Regions from separate parts of the Homo sapiens genome. Here region 1 is linked to region 2. The links are contacts of gene promoters, found by promoter capture Hi-C in human tissues and cell types (Jung and others, 2019). All regions are on one chromosome and are shown on one strand. Each heading gives the region's core, a stretch centred on a gene start or on the middle of the fragment in contact. The rest is flanking DNA. Distances are from core to core; before and after follow the strand shown. Region 1 overlaps LINC03036 (long intergenic non-protein coding RNA 3036). Region 2 holds the start of PRLHR (prolactin releasing hormone receptor).

What was found. Contacts are between HindIII fragments. The study calls those that stand out against the background at their distance.
Region 1: a fragment that was not itself captured here is called in contact with the fragment with the promoter of PRLHR in region 2 in 2 of the 25 tissues and cell types used here (heart left ventricle and spleen).

The regions. Positions count from the first base shown.
Region 1 is chr10:118,781,095-118,787,301 of GRCh38, forward strand. It overlaps LINC03036 (long intergenic non-protein coding RNA 3036), which reads right to left. Exons shown (of 4, transcript NR_186540.1): 4 at 3,450-5,948. Among named protein-coding and RNA genes, the nearest start is that of CACUL1, 29 kb to the left of the region's middle. The HindIII fragment of the contact is 7,267 bases long and covers 1-5,080 here.
Region 2 is chr10:118,593,826-118,599,999 of GRCh38, forward strand. It overlaps PRLHR (prolactin releasing hormone receptor), which reads right to left and starts at 1,823. Exons shown (of 2, transcript NM_004248.3): 1 at 1,691-1,823; 2 at 1-1,425. The coding sequence starts at 1,419. The coding sequence ends at 307. RefSeq lists enhancers at 782-1,590, 1,591-2,399, 2,400-3,208. The HindIII fragment of the contact is 7,132 bases long and covers 1-4,401 here.

The DNA.
Region 1 (6,207 bases), core at 197-2,696, 190 kb after region 2:
TGAAACTGGGAGGTGGAGTTTGCAGTGAGCCGAGATTGTACCACTGCACTCAAGCCTGGGTGACAAAATGAGACTCCATCTCAAAAAACACCAAACAAATTTTTATTATACATCTGCTATTTGCATGATATTATGCTGAAGATATGGAGAAAAAGACAGGTAAGACTTTGACCTTCATGGAGCTTGAAGCCCAATGGGGAAGAGATGAGAAAGAAAGCAAATAAATACACGAAATCATCACAACAAATAGTATACTGTAATGGAGAATAACAGCATGGGAACACTTGGAACTGGGAGCTCATTCCCTTCAAGGACTGAAAGAATAACCTTATGTAAAGCTCTGAGCACACTAGCCAGTTACATGACAGTCCTCTTCTAGAAGCTGCCAGACCTGCTCCCTTCAGACTGGGGCCTGCCGTAAACAAAGCCCAAGTGGCCCAGCATGCACCCTGTGCGTAGACCCTACGCAGCCAATCCAATCTGTGCTGCTTCTGTCCATCTGAAGATGGATGCAGGTCAGGATGGACAGACAGAAGGCCGTACACAGAATGCCACCAGGGAAAGCTATTGGCTGCAGAAGCCCTGCCTAGCACAGACTCTCTACTGAGCTGGCTTTGTTCCTTTGCATAATGGGCACCACCTGGGTCCCAGGGAATGCAACTGGCATCAATTAGTTCTCATAGAGCCCAAGCTGGAGCACAGCCTGGCTCTCCTCCTAGGTACTGGCTCTGGAAGCAGCCAGCTCCTGGTCTGCGTCTTTTACTCCTAATGACCTCCATTGGTGACCTCTTCCCAATCAAGCAGGGCCCACTAGGCACACAGCTGCCACCATGATGAGAAACCTGGTTCTCAGAGCTAAATGATCAGACCCCAGCCACCACTGTATGCCTGGAGGGGCCCGATGAACTAAGGACAACTTAAGCAACAGAGGGACTCTGAAAATTCTGTTTCTGGCTTTTATTCTCAGAATTTCATTCCATATAGAGGGACAGGCAGTCTAGAATTGGTGGTATTGCACAGCACCTAAGTGGCTACTATGCAGGCAGACAGGCAGGATGGGAGAGACCCAGTCCCTATCCAGCTGTTTCCAGTGGTCTAATCTCGGGCAAGGGACTTAACTTCCCTAAGCTTTGGTTGCCCCATCTTAAAATGGGCATGAAAATCATAGTACCTACCTCATGTTTTGGGCAAAGGATTAAGTGCAAGAATCCATGTAAACATATTTAGGAACTGTTCAGTGTGTGTTTGCTATGATTTATCTTCTTCATTTACTCAATAAATGTTTTTGAGCATCTAATATGTGCTAGGCCCTATTCTAGGCTCTGGAAATGTCACACATCTGATGAACATCCATTTGTTAGGCTACAAGGCATTTAAACCGGGCAAGAGTTTGTGATGTACCTGCCCCACTGTATGACTTGGCTTTTTCTCCATAACCACCCAGAAACTCAGTGGCTTCAAGCAACAGATGTTTCTGCTTTCTCATGACTCTATGGGTGATCCGAGCAATTCTTGTGTTCTGGACCAGGTTAGCCAGAGGTGGGTGGTCCAGGATGATACATGGGTCCTGGGCCTCAGTTGGGATGTTTGCAGCCACCTTCCCCATGGTTTCTTAACCTACAAGTGAGAGGTGACAGCATGCTGGCAGTCCTCAGAGCCCTCGCTTGCTCTCGGCACCTCCCCTGCCTGGGCTCCCACTTTGGTGGCATTTGAGGAGCCCTTCAGCGCCCCCTCTGCACTGTGGAAGCCCCTTTCTGGGCTGGCCAAGGCTGGAGCCCACTCCCTCAGCTTGCAGGGAGGTGTGGAGGGAGAGGCACGAGCGGGAACCGGGGCTGCGTGCAGCGCTTGCGGGCCAGCTGGAGTTCCAGGTGGGCGTGGGCTTGGTGGGCCCCGCACTCGGAGCAGCCAGCCAGCCCTGCTGGCCCCGGGCAATGGGGGACTTAGCACCCGGGCCAGTGGCTGCGGAGGGTCTACTGAGTCCCCCAGCAGTGCCGGCCCACCGGCGCTGCGCTCGATTTCTCGCTGGGCCTTAGCTGCCTTCCCGCGGGGCAGGGCTCGGGACATGCAGCCCGCCATGCCTGAGCCTCCCACCCACTCCATGGGCTCCTGTGCGGCCTGAGCCTCCCCGACGAGCACCACCCCCTACTCCACGACGTCCAGTCCCATCGACCACCCAAGGGCTGAGGAATGCGAGCGCAGGGCACAGGACTGGCAGGCAGCTCCACCTGCAGCCCCGGTGCGGGATGCACTAGGTGAAGCCAGCTGGACTCCTGAGTCTGGTGGGGACGTGGAGAGTCTTTATATCTAGTTCAGGGATTGTAAATACACCAATCATCACCCTGTGTTTAGCTCAAGGTTTGTGAGGGCACCAATCGACACTCCGTATCTAGCTGCTCTGGTGGGGCCTTGGAGAACCTTTATGTCTAGGTCAGGGATTGTAAATACACCAATCAGCACCCTGTGTTTAGCTCAAGGTCTGTGAATGCACCAATCGACACTCAGTATCTAGCTGCTCTGGTGGGGCCCTGGAGAACCTGTGTGTCGAAACTCTGTATCTAACTAATCTGATGGGGACGTGGAGAACCTTTGTATCTACCTCAGGGATTGTAAACGCACCAATCAGCGCCCTGACAAAACAGGCCACTCGGCTCTACCAATCAGCAGGATGTGGGTGGGGCCAGATAAGAGAATAAAAGCAGGCTGCCCGAGCTAGCATTGGCAACGGGCTTGGGTCCCCTTGTGCACTGTGGAAGGTTTGTTCTTTTGTTGTTTGCAATAAATCTTGCTACTGCTCACTCTTTGGGTCCACGCTGCTTTTCTGAGCTGTAACACTCACCGCGAAGATTTGCAGTTTCACTCCTGAGCCCAGCGAGACCACGAGCCCCCCGGAAGGAACGAACTACAGACGCGTTGCCTTAAGAGCTATAATACTCACCGTGAAGGTCTGCAGCTTCACTCCTGAGCCAGCGAGACCACAAACCCACCAGAAGGAAGAAACTCCGAACACATCTGAATATCAGAAGGGAGAGACTCCACACGCGCCACCTTAAGAGCTGTAACACTCACCGTGAGGGTCCGCGGCTTCATTCTTGAAGTCAGTGAGACCAAGAACCCGCCAATTCTGGACACACAAGGAGGGTACAATGGTCTTGTTCAGTAGGTGCCAGAAGGTCCCACGGTAAGAAAGAAGGCAAACACCAACTCACAAGCACTTTCCTCTGCTTGTGACACATTAGCTATTTTTACATTGTCCAAAGCAAGTCACAAGGCCAGAGTCCGTGGGAGGGGACCACCCAAGGGCATGGAACGAGGGAACCAGGAACAAGTGGGAGCTGTTACTGCCACAACCAACTACACTGACCCATTTCTCAGTGGTCTCCGAATGTTTTTGATCATATATCCCTGTATTAGTCTGTTCAGGCTGCCATCACAAAATAACACAGACAGAATAGCTTAAACAACAGAAGTTTATTTTTTCATAGTTATGGAAACCCAAGATCAGGGTGCTGGTATGGTTGGGTTGTGGTGGGGTCTCTCTTCCTGGTCTGCAGATGGCTGCCTTCTTGCTATGTTCTTACATGGTCCTTCCTGGATGTATGCACAGGGAGAGAGAGCACAATATCTCTCTCATCCCTCTCTTACAAGGTCACCAATTCAATTGATTAGGACCCCACCCTTATGACCTTATTTAACCTTAATTACCTCCTAAAAGCCCCATGTCCAAATACAGTCACACTGGGGATTAGGGCTTCAACATATGTATTTGTTGGAACACAGTTCAGTCCATAGAAATCTCTATTTTTTAAGACATTTGCAGCTCCAATACATGCATATTTATGTATACATTATATATACATTACATTAAAAATTTTTTAAAGATGAGTTAAAGATGTAATATTTTAGTGTTAATTTTGATGGCATTTTTTTATTAATAAATAATATTGCAAGGCACAATACACACTAAGGGTGAGCTCATGAATGACAGTGGACATAAATCCATCTTTCAAGGGACCCTCTTGATCATTTTAGTTTGGGGGGCAAAGAGGCTGACTTCTTGGCAGATTTCATTTTACCTCATAATGTGCTGATATAGAGCTGATACTAGCCACATAAGCTCTGCCAATTTCTTATGGTTTTCTGGGACTTATACTATTAGTATTATCTTTAATCTTCAATCTATAATAATCTATTAAAACATTTTCATTTTGTAAAGATCAATTTTGGTAAAACTAGATCATGGGCTGGGTCCAGTGCCTCACATCTATAAATCCTAGCAATTTGGGAGGCTGAAGCAGGTGGATCTTTTGAGGCCAGGAATTTGAGACCAGCCTAGGCAACACAAAAAGACCTCATCTCTACAGGAAAAAAACAAAAAACAAAAAAAAAAAACCTGGGTGTGGTGGCATGCACCTATAGTCACAGCGACTCAGGAGGCTGAGACAGGAGGATTGCTTGAGCCCAGGAGTTCGAGGCTGCAGTGAGCTAAGATCGCACCACTGCACTCCAGTGTGGGGGACAGGGCCAGATCCTGTCTCTTTAAAAACAAAAACAAAAAATGGCCTAGGTTGTGTAGTTTATAAATCCATCTACCCACTTGCGAATAGACCAAACTATCTCAGATTCCCCTGAGTGTTGATGTGCAGGTGGTGAGGTTACCAGCACCGGCCCCCACATCACAGAGCATTCAAGGCTGCACCTGTGCCATGGGTGGCAAAGGAGCCTCTGAGGAAAGCTATGACTGTCAAGCTGAGTCCGTTTTGTGCTTTGTGGGTTTTTAAAATTTTTGTTTAATACTTTTTGGTGTTCTACACATTCAGAGAAACTTTTCTAGTAACAAATGATAGAAATGATCCTTGAAAGTATCATCTTCTGAACATTAAAAGATTAGGAAAGTATAATTGCTTTGTTATTTTTTTAGCCCCAAAGTTCCAATATTTTTTCACACAACCCAGCACCTTGTGCTGAGCGCCCCACTTGGAAACCACTGATTTGCTTTATCAAAAAAAAAGTGGTTTTGTACATGATATTAAAGTGTAAAACAATGCCTTATGCCCAATGTTAGTAGCAACTGAATAGTTTATATAAAAGTATCTGGTAAGTAGGGCTTGGTCTTATATAAAATTGGAAATCTGGCTGGGCGCGGTGGCTCATGCCTGTAATCCCAACACTTTGGGAGGTTGAGGCAGGCGGGTCACTTGTGGCCAGGAGTTCAAGACCAGCCTGGCCAACATGGTGAAACCCCGTCTCTACTAAAAATACAAAATTAGCCGGGCATGGTAGTGTATGCCTGTAGTCCCAGCTACTCAGGAGGCTGAGGCATGAGAATCACTTGAACCCGAATTGCTTGAACCCAGGGGGCAGAGGGTGCAGAGAGCTGAGATCAGGCCACTACACTCCAGCCTGCAACAGATCAAGAATCTGTCTCAAAAAAAAAAAAAAAATCAGAAATCTATGGGATTGCGAGTGATTTACTCAAAAGAAACCAAAAAAGGCTTTATATTCACATGAGTCTGTGGCCCCTGGGGAGGATATCCTCAGCTCCCTCTCCACTTCCCTGACCATGGACTGGGCTTTAGGACTCTAGTCCTATGTCCCATTAGTTTTCTACAACTGTCATAACAAATTACTACAAATTCAGCCACTTAAAACAATAGAAATTTGTTCTCTTACAGTTCTGGAGGCCAGAAGTCGAAATCCAGGTGTCGGCAGTGTCAGCAGGGCCACGCTCCCTCTGAAGGCCCTAGGAGAGGCTCCTTTCTTGCCTCTTCCAGCTTCTAGTGCCATCAGCATTCCTTGGCTTGGACGGCTTTGCTCTGTCTTCACTTTGCCTTTTCATCCATGTTTCTGTCTTTTCCTCTGTGTGTCCTTTATCAGGACATGTGTCATTGGATTTCAGGCTCACTTGGATAATCAGGATGACCACTTCATCTCAAAATCTTTAATTACATCTGCAAAGACCCCGTTTCCAAATAAGGTCACGTTCGCAGGTTTTTAGGGTCATCATTCAGCCCACTGCACACGTTCTCCCTGCAATGTCAATGGATGAATTGGGGTCCAGAATGAGAGTTGGGGCACCGTGTGGACCAGCCTCTGTCTTTCCCTCCTTCCTGACTCTGCAGGGCTCCTCTGAACACCATGCTTTATCATGGAAGCCTTCCTCCTTGTATTTTACAGTCAACTCACATCTTCCATGAGGAGGAAATGCCT
Region 2 (6,174 bases), core at 573-3,072:
ACTTTTCTGAACGTGGAGAAAAAGTTTTGTTTGTCCTTCAAGGGCATAAAGAAGAAATAAGAAATCCTCTTCCCTCTCTTTGGCCTCCCCCAAGCAAAGAGCAAGACTCTCACCAAAGCCCGCTTAACATTTTACAAACACACAAGGACAAGACAGACAGCCGGACAAGAGGGCTGGGCTGGAAATGTTGCCCTATGTTGGCTTAGCTAGCTCTGGTGCTGAGAATAAGCACCAGATTGACCTCGAGTGGTGCCCTAGGAGGCCAGTTGAAGTGGAGCTCCTTGACCAAGGCCTGGCTAAGTGGCATCAGATGACCACGCTGACGGTCATATTCTGGCCATGGGGGGCTATCTTGCGGGGCCAAGCGACCAACAGTTTGCGCAGCTCCTCGCGGAAGCTGTCGTGCAGCCAGGCGTAGATGAAGGGGTTGTAGCAGGCCGAACTCATGGCGAGCCAGTGGCAGAGCAGCTGCACCAGCCCAAAGGCGTAAGGGTCGATGGCGTGGGGGTCGAGGTCCCGCAGCAGGTTGAAGACGTGCAGCGGCAGCCAGCAGACGGCGAACACCACCACGATCACCACCAGCAAGCAGAAGGTGCGCCGGCGCCGAGCGCGGTCCCAGTCGGCCTGGCTCTGGGTCACGCAGCCCGGCACCACGCGGTTGCGGAGCTTCACTGACACCCGGACGTAAGACAGGAGGATGACCAGCAGAGGGAGCAGGTAGGTGACCAGCAGCAGCCCCCAGGCGTAGAGCTGGCGCTGGCGCTCCTGGGAGCCCCAGAACTCCTCGCAGAGGCGCACGTCGTGCGGCTTGAGCTCCACGTGATAGGTGTGCACGGCGGCGGGCAGCGCCAGCACCGCGGACAGCGCCCAGATGGCCAGCACAGCGTAGGCGCTGAGGCGCAGCGAGATGCGCCGCCTCAGCGGGTGCACCAGCACGACGTAGCGGTCCACTGCGATGGTGGTGAGCGTGAACACCGACACATAGACGGTGACCGGCTGCAGGAAGAAGACCAGGTGGCACAGGCCGCCGCCGAACACCCAGCCGCGTGGCTCGAAGGCATAGGCCAGCGTGAGCGGCACGCAGGCGGTGCACATGAGCACGTCGGACAAGGCCAGGTTGCCGATGAGGAAGTTCGTCACGTTGTGCAGCCGGCGCACCCGCGCGATCACCAGCACCAGCAGGCAGTTGCCCACCAGCCCCACGACCACCACGACGCTGTAGAGCAGCACGATCAGCCCCTTCAGCTGATGCACCAGCTGCAGGCTCTGGAAGGGCGTGACGGCTGGAGCGTCCGCGCCAGCCACCGACCCGTTGCCCGCCGAGGCCTCTGCGCTCTGGTTGGCGGGAGTTGTGACCGCCGGCGGCAGCCCAGAAAATAAGTCAGAAACCCTGGGGCCCCGAGTGGTCGATGAGGCCATGGCCACCTGTTCAAAGGTAATCAAAGTCCGTCACTTCCCTTGCCATACTCCATCCGACCTCCTACACCAGCCGCGCCCCTCCCCCATCGCCTGAGTCCTCCCTTGGGAATAACCGGCCACAGAACAACAGCAAAAGTAGCAAAAAGTGTTGTCCTCTCACCTCTGTAAAATAAACCTAAGCACGGTTAGAACATACGGTTTATTTAAACGCTTCCGCCTCTATTTACGGTCCTCGCAGTCCACGCAGGCAGACTCAGGAGCGCGATCCTACCTGGGAGTGGGGTTTGGAGAGCGGGAAAGCACTCGCGGGAAGAAGGGGCAGAATTTCTGCTGGCCCTCGGTAGTCCTCTGCCCACGTCGGTGATCCGGTCTCGCTTCTCCGCGGGAGCTGAACGGATCCAAATGTTTCCCAGTGGGCTAGCAGCTTCTTAGAGGGACTGGGAGCGCCTCCCCTCAGCTCCGCCCCCCACTCCAGCTCCCATGTATGGAAAATAGGGGTGGAGCGCGCTCTGCCATGCTCGGTGCTTAGAGAACTAGTGAAGAGGACAGTGTGGGGAGGATGGAATCCGAAACGGGAGGAGGGGCCGGCAAACCTGGCCAGAGCAGCGAAGAGGACGAATCTCTACTGCAGGAGCTTGCACGGCCCCTGGAGGGTCAGGGTCCGGAGGAGCGCACAGTGGAGGAGGGCGGAGGAGAGGCGCGAAGCGTCAGGCTATCGGGAGGAGCCGGTGCAGTCTTAGGAGGGAAGGAGCGGGGAAGGAAGTAGCGGTGGGAGATTGCAATGCAGCTGGGGGCTTGAGAGAGGCACGACTGACCCGTTCTTAAAGGCTGGATCCTGCCTAGCGGCCAGGTTGCGGAGGGCAGAGACGCTAGAGGGCTCGGGCTGGGATTTAACAGCAGAGCCTGGAGCTGGTCGCGGACCTGAGGACCCTCACCCTCCCGTGGCCCCGCCACACGAGCCCCCTGCTTGGCTGCAGCGCGCTCAGCGGGCAGCGGGTCCGGCCAAGCCAAAGGCAGGAGTCAGCACCACGGACAGCTTCCGCTGGATCTGCCGCCCCTCGGGCGGATGATGTGGGGAGGAGCAGGGGAAAATGACTAGGGAATTCCTGCCCCTCTCTGGATCCGGGTGTTTGGGGAAGGAACCTGGTCCGGTTCAAAGACCTGCCTCGCTGCCTGCTTTCTGGGCTGGGGCTGAGAAGAGTAGGGTGGAGTGGAGGCAGCTGAGCCGGGGGCCTGGGGGTCGGAGACTCATGACTTTTGCTCCTCTTGGTGGTCACCGCACTCAGTGCCAAGGACGGCGTCGTCTTTTACCTCCCGGGGTCAGAAAATGCAGCTCTCCTGCCAGTTATTCTACACAGGCACACTTCAGTCTGGCCCAGCGACTCCCCGGCTCACCCTTTCTCTCGCTTTCTTTCTCGGCTACCGCGACCTGTGCCGTATCTGGCTGCTTCTCCCAGCACAGAGTAGTTCCTGGACTGAGACTTGACCCCTCCCTCCTTGACTGAACACCCACAGGCCTCTTCTCTTCATTTTAGGATTTTTTAAAAATACTGGTAATTGCAGATTTCAGCTAGGGTAACAAAAGTAACAAACATTTGAGAAGCTTAGGCGTTTCATAAAATCTTCAGTAGTATTAAGTCCTCATTGAAATGCAAATTAGCCTGGCCCACGGGGCAAGAGCCAGGGGAGGAGGGGCCTTTGTAAGCTCCCTCCTTAGAAGCTATCTCATTCCCTCAGCCTCTTGTTTCCTTTTTCCAGAGCATGGAGCTTCATTGTCTCCTCTCTGATAAGTCCTTGTACTTTGTCCTCTGGCTGCAGATATTCCAGTTAGACTGGAAACTAATATCAATTTATTCCACCCTCCAAATTTAAATGAATCACTCATATAGAAAAAAGTCAATATTGGAACAAAAGTAATCAATGTTATGCACCTCTGTCCATCCTAAGCTCACGGTCCCTGAGTTATAATCAATTTAGCTAAAACCAGTGTGTGTGTATATATACATGTATATGTTAGGACAAGATCTCACTCTGTCACCCAGGCTGGAGTGCAGTGGCACAATCATGGCTCACTGCAGCCTCAACCTCCCAGGCCAAAGCCATCCTCCCACCTCTCAGCCTCTCAAGTAGCTGGAACTACGGGTGCACACCACCATGCCTGACTAATTTTTGTTTATTTGTTTCTTTTGAGGCGGAGTCTTGCTCTGTCGCCAGGCTGGAGTGCAGTGGTGTGATCTCAGCTCACTGCAACCTCTGCCTCCCAGGTTCAAGCGATTCTCCTGCCTCAGCCTCCCGAGTAGCTGTGACTACAGGCACGTGCCACCATGCCCAGATGATTTTGTATTTTTAGTAGAGACGGGGTTTCACCATGTTGGCCAGGATGGTCTTGATCTCTTGACCTCGTGATCCGCCCACCTCGGCCTCCCAAAGTGCTGGAATTACACACGTAAGCCACTGCGCCTGGCCTAATTTTTTGTAGAGGTGAGGTTTTGCCATGTTGCCCAGGCTGACTGAACTCCTAGGCTCAAGCAATCCTCCCGCTTCAGACTCCCAAAGTTCTGGGATTACAAGCATGAGCTACTGCACCCAGTCTCAGTATTATATATACTTTTTTAATTGCAGAGCTCTAAATAGGATACAATCAGTGCCTGCCTAATACCTTGCCCAGTAATTTTTCTCATCATTTTCACCTGCAGGGTTTTATGCACCCAAGAGCAGGGGCACTCTTTTGTTTCAAAATCTCTTAAGCAGAGGAAATTGCGATAAAGTCAGTGAAAAAGGATTTGGGATGTTGTTAGGCCTCCTAACTAGAGCCATCATTCTGGTCAATATCATTATATTGGTCAATTATCATATATAATAGTAAAAGTAATAATACGAAGACAACTTTGTCAATAACTGAAGGTCATGTAAACATGGATATTTGAAGTTTCAATATTGGGGCACCCTCCAGAGGAAAGAGTGGATCATTTGCCAAATTCCAGATAAAGTTGGGCAAGCATTTTAGTATTATCAATATTTGCAAGGTGGAAAGGAAGTGAACAGCTGTCCTTTGAAGAGGGAATGAAGATTTAATGTGGCCTATTAGGGCTTCATTCCCTCTTCTCCTCACTGGAGTTAAGGCTAGTCCCTCTCCCAGCCAGCACATCATGATTAAATCATGCTAATGTTCAGACTGTCCAGTACTAAGAATGCTCCAAAAACCTGAGAGAGCATAAATAAACAAAAAAAAATAGGATAAATGAAGGAAAGGTAATACTTCATACAGTAGACAGCAAACTATGGGATTTTACTTCCTCCCATTCTCCAAAAGTCTTCAATAGCCCATCCAACCAAGGCCAGATGCTTTCGCATGGTATTTCCAACCAGTGTGCACTCCCTTTCTGATATGTCCTCATTTTTTTGGTCTAGCTTCCCACCTCTGTCCATTTTACTTCCTAGGTACAAGCCAAACTTTGCTGGGTGCTGAGATATCCTCACCATTCCTGTCTAATTCCTCTCTTAAGGTTTATTTCTTTTCTCCACAATGTCAGTTGTTTAATCCCCACTCAACTCTACCTGTCCACATTCTTCACATCCTACAAGACCCAACCCAAGGACAACTGTTCTCAAAGACTTGTCCCTTCCATAATCTTTCTGTCTTTTATTAATTTCTACCTTGAAATTACGGAAGTGTTTAGCTTCCCTGCCTCCACCAACCCTGACTGTAAATTCTTTATGGACAGGGCCAATGTCTTGATACATTTTGTACCTACAACATGCCACGAGCCCAGCAGATACCCAATACATGTGTTTTTCTTTTTCTTTTTTTTTATTGAATGAATAAAAATAGTTACCATTTACTTAGGGCTTTAGGCATGCCAGCCATTGCTAAGTACATCACACAAATTGTCTCATTTGAGTCCCCTCAAAATTATTATTATACCCATTTTACAGATGAGAAAACTGGCTCTCAAGTCAAGAAACTAACCATAATGGCACATCTAGTATGCAGTGGGGTTGGAATTTCATCTTAGATCTGCCTGATTCTGGCACCACACCACTCAACTACTATACTTCACTGCCTATGAATGAATGGCAGATGTACCTGCAAAGACTGAAAATACAAGCAGGTTCAAATGAGATTGAATAAATACAGGAACCCCTCCCCCCATGGTTTATTAAGAAAGCTCTAGAAAATTTAGTTACAACTCACACCTTATCATGTTTAAGCTAAACAGATCTTCATGCCTTACCCCAAATGTCTCTTGCTTCCATCCCATATAGGAAACAAAACCTTGGGCCATAGTGCTACTGGTGGGTCTTTGCTCCCAGAGCTCCCAAGATGGTGGTGGGCCACTCCCAAGCAAGACGGCGGCAAGCTTCTTGCTCTCTGACCTGGGGTTTTTGGCCTCACGGATTCCAAGGAATGGAACCTTGGGCCATGCAGTGAGTGTTATAGCTCTATTAGAAGCCGTGGGTCACGGAAGAGAACCATGGAGCCCAGCAACTAGTGTTCAGCTCGATTAGGACAAACCCAGGCACTTAGCCGCACAGGAACAATGGTGAGAACCGGAACAGCAATGGGCGCCTCACTGGATCAGAAGCGCAGCGGACACCCTGCTGCATCCAGAGGGGTGGAAGTCAGAGGCGGGTCTGCGACGACGGCAATCAGCAGTGGTGGACGGCGAGTGAAAGCTCAGCTCGAGCTGGAACAAACACAGACCAGAAGAGTGTGCAGTTGCAAGATTTAATAGAGTGAAAACAGAGCTCCCA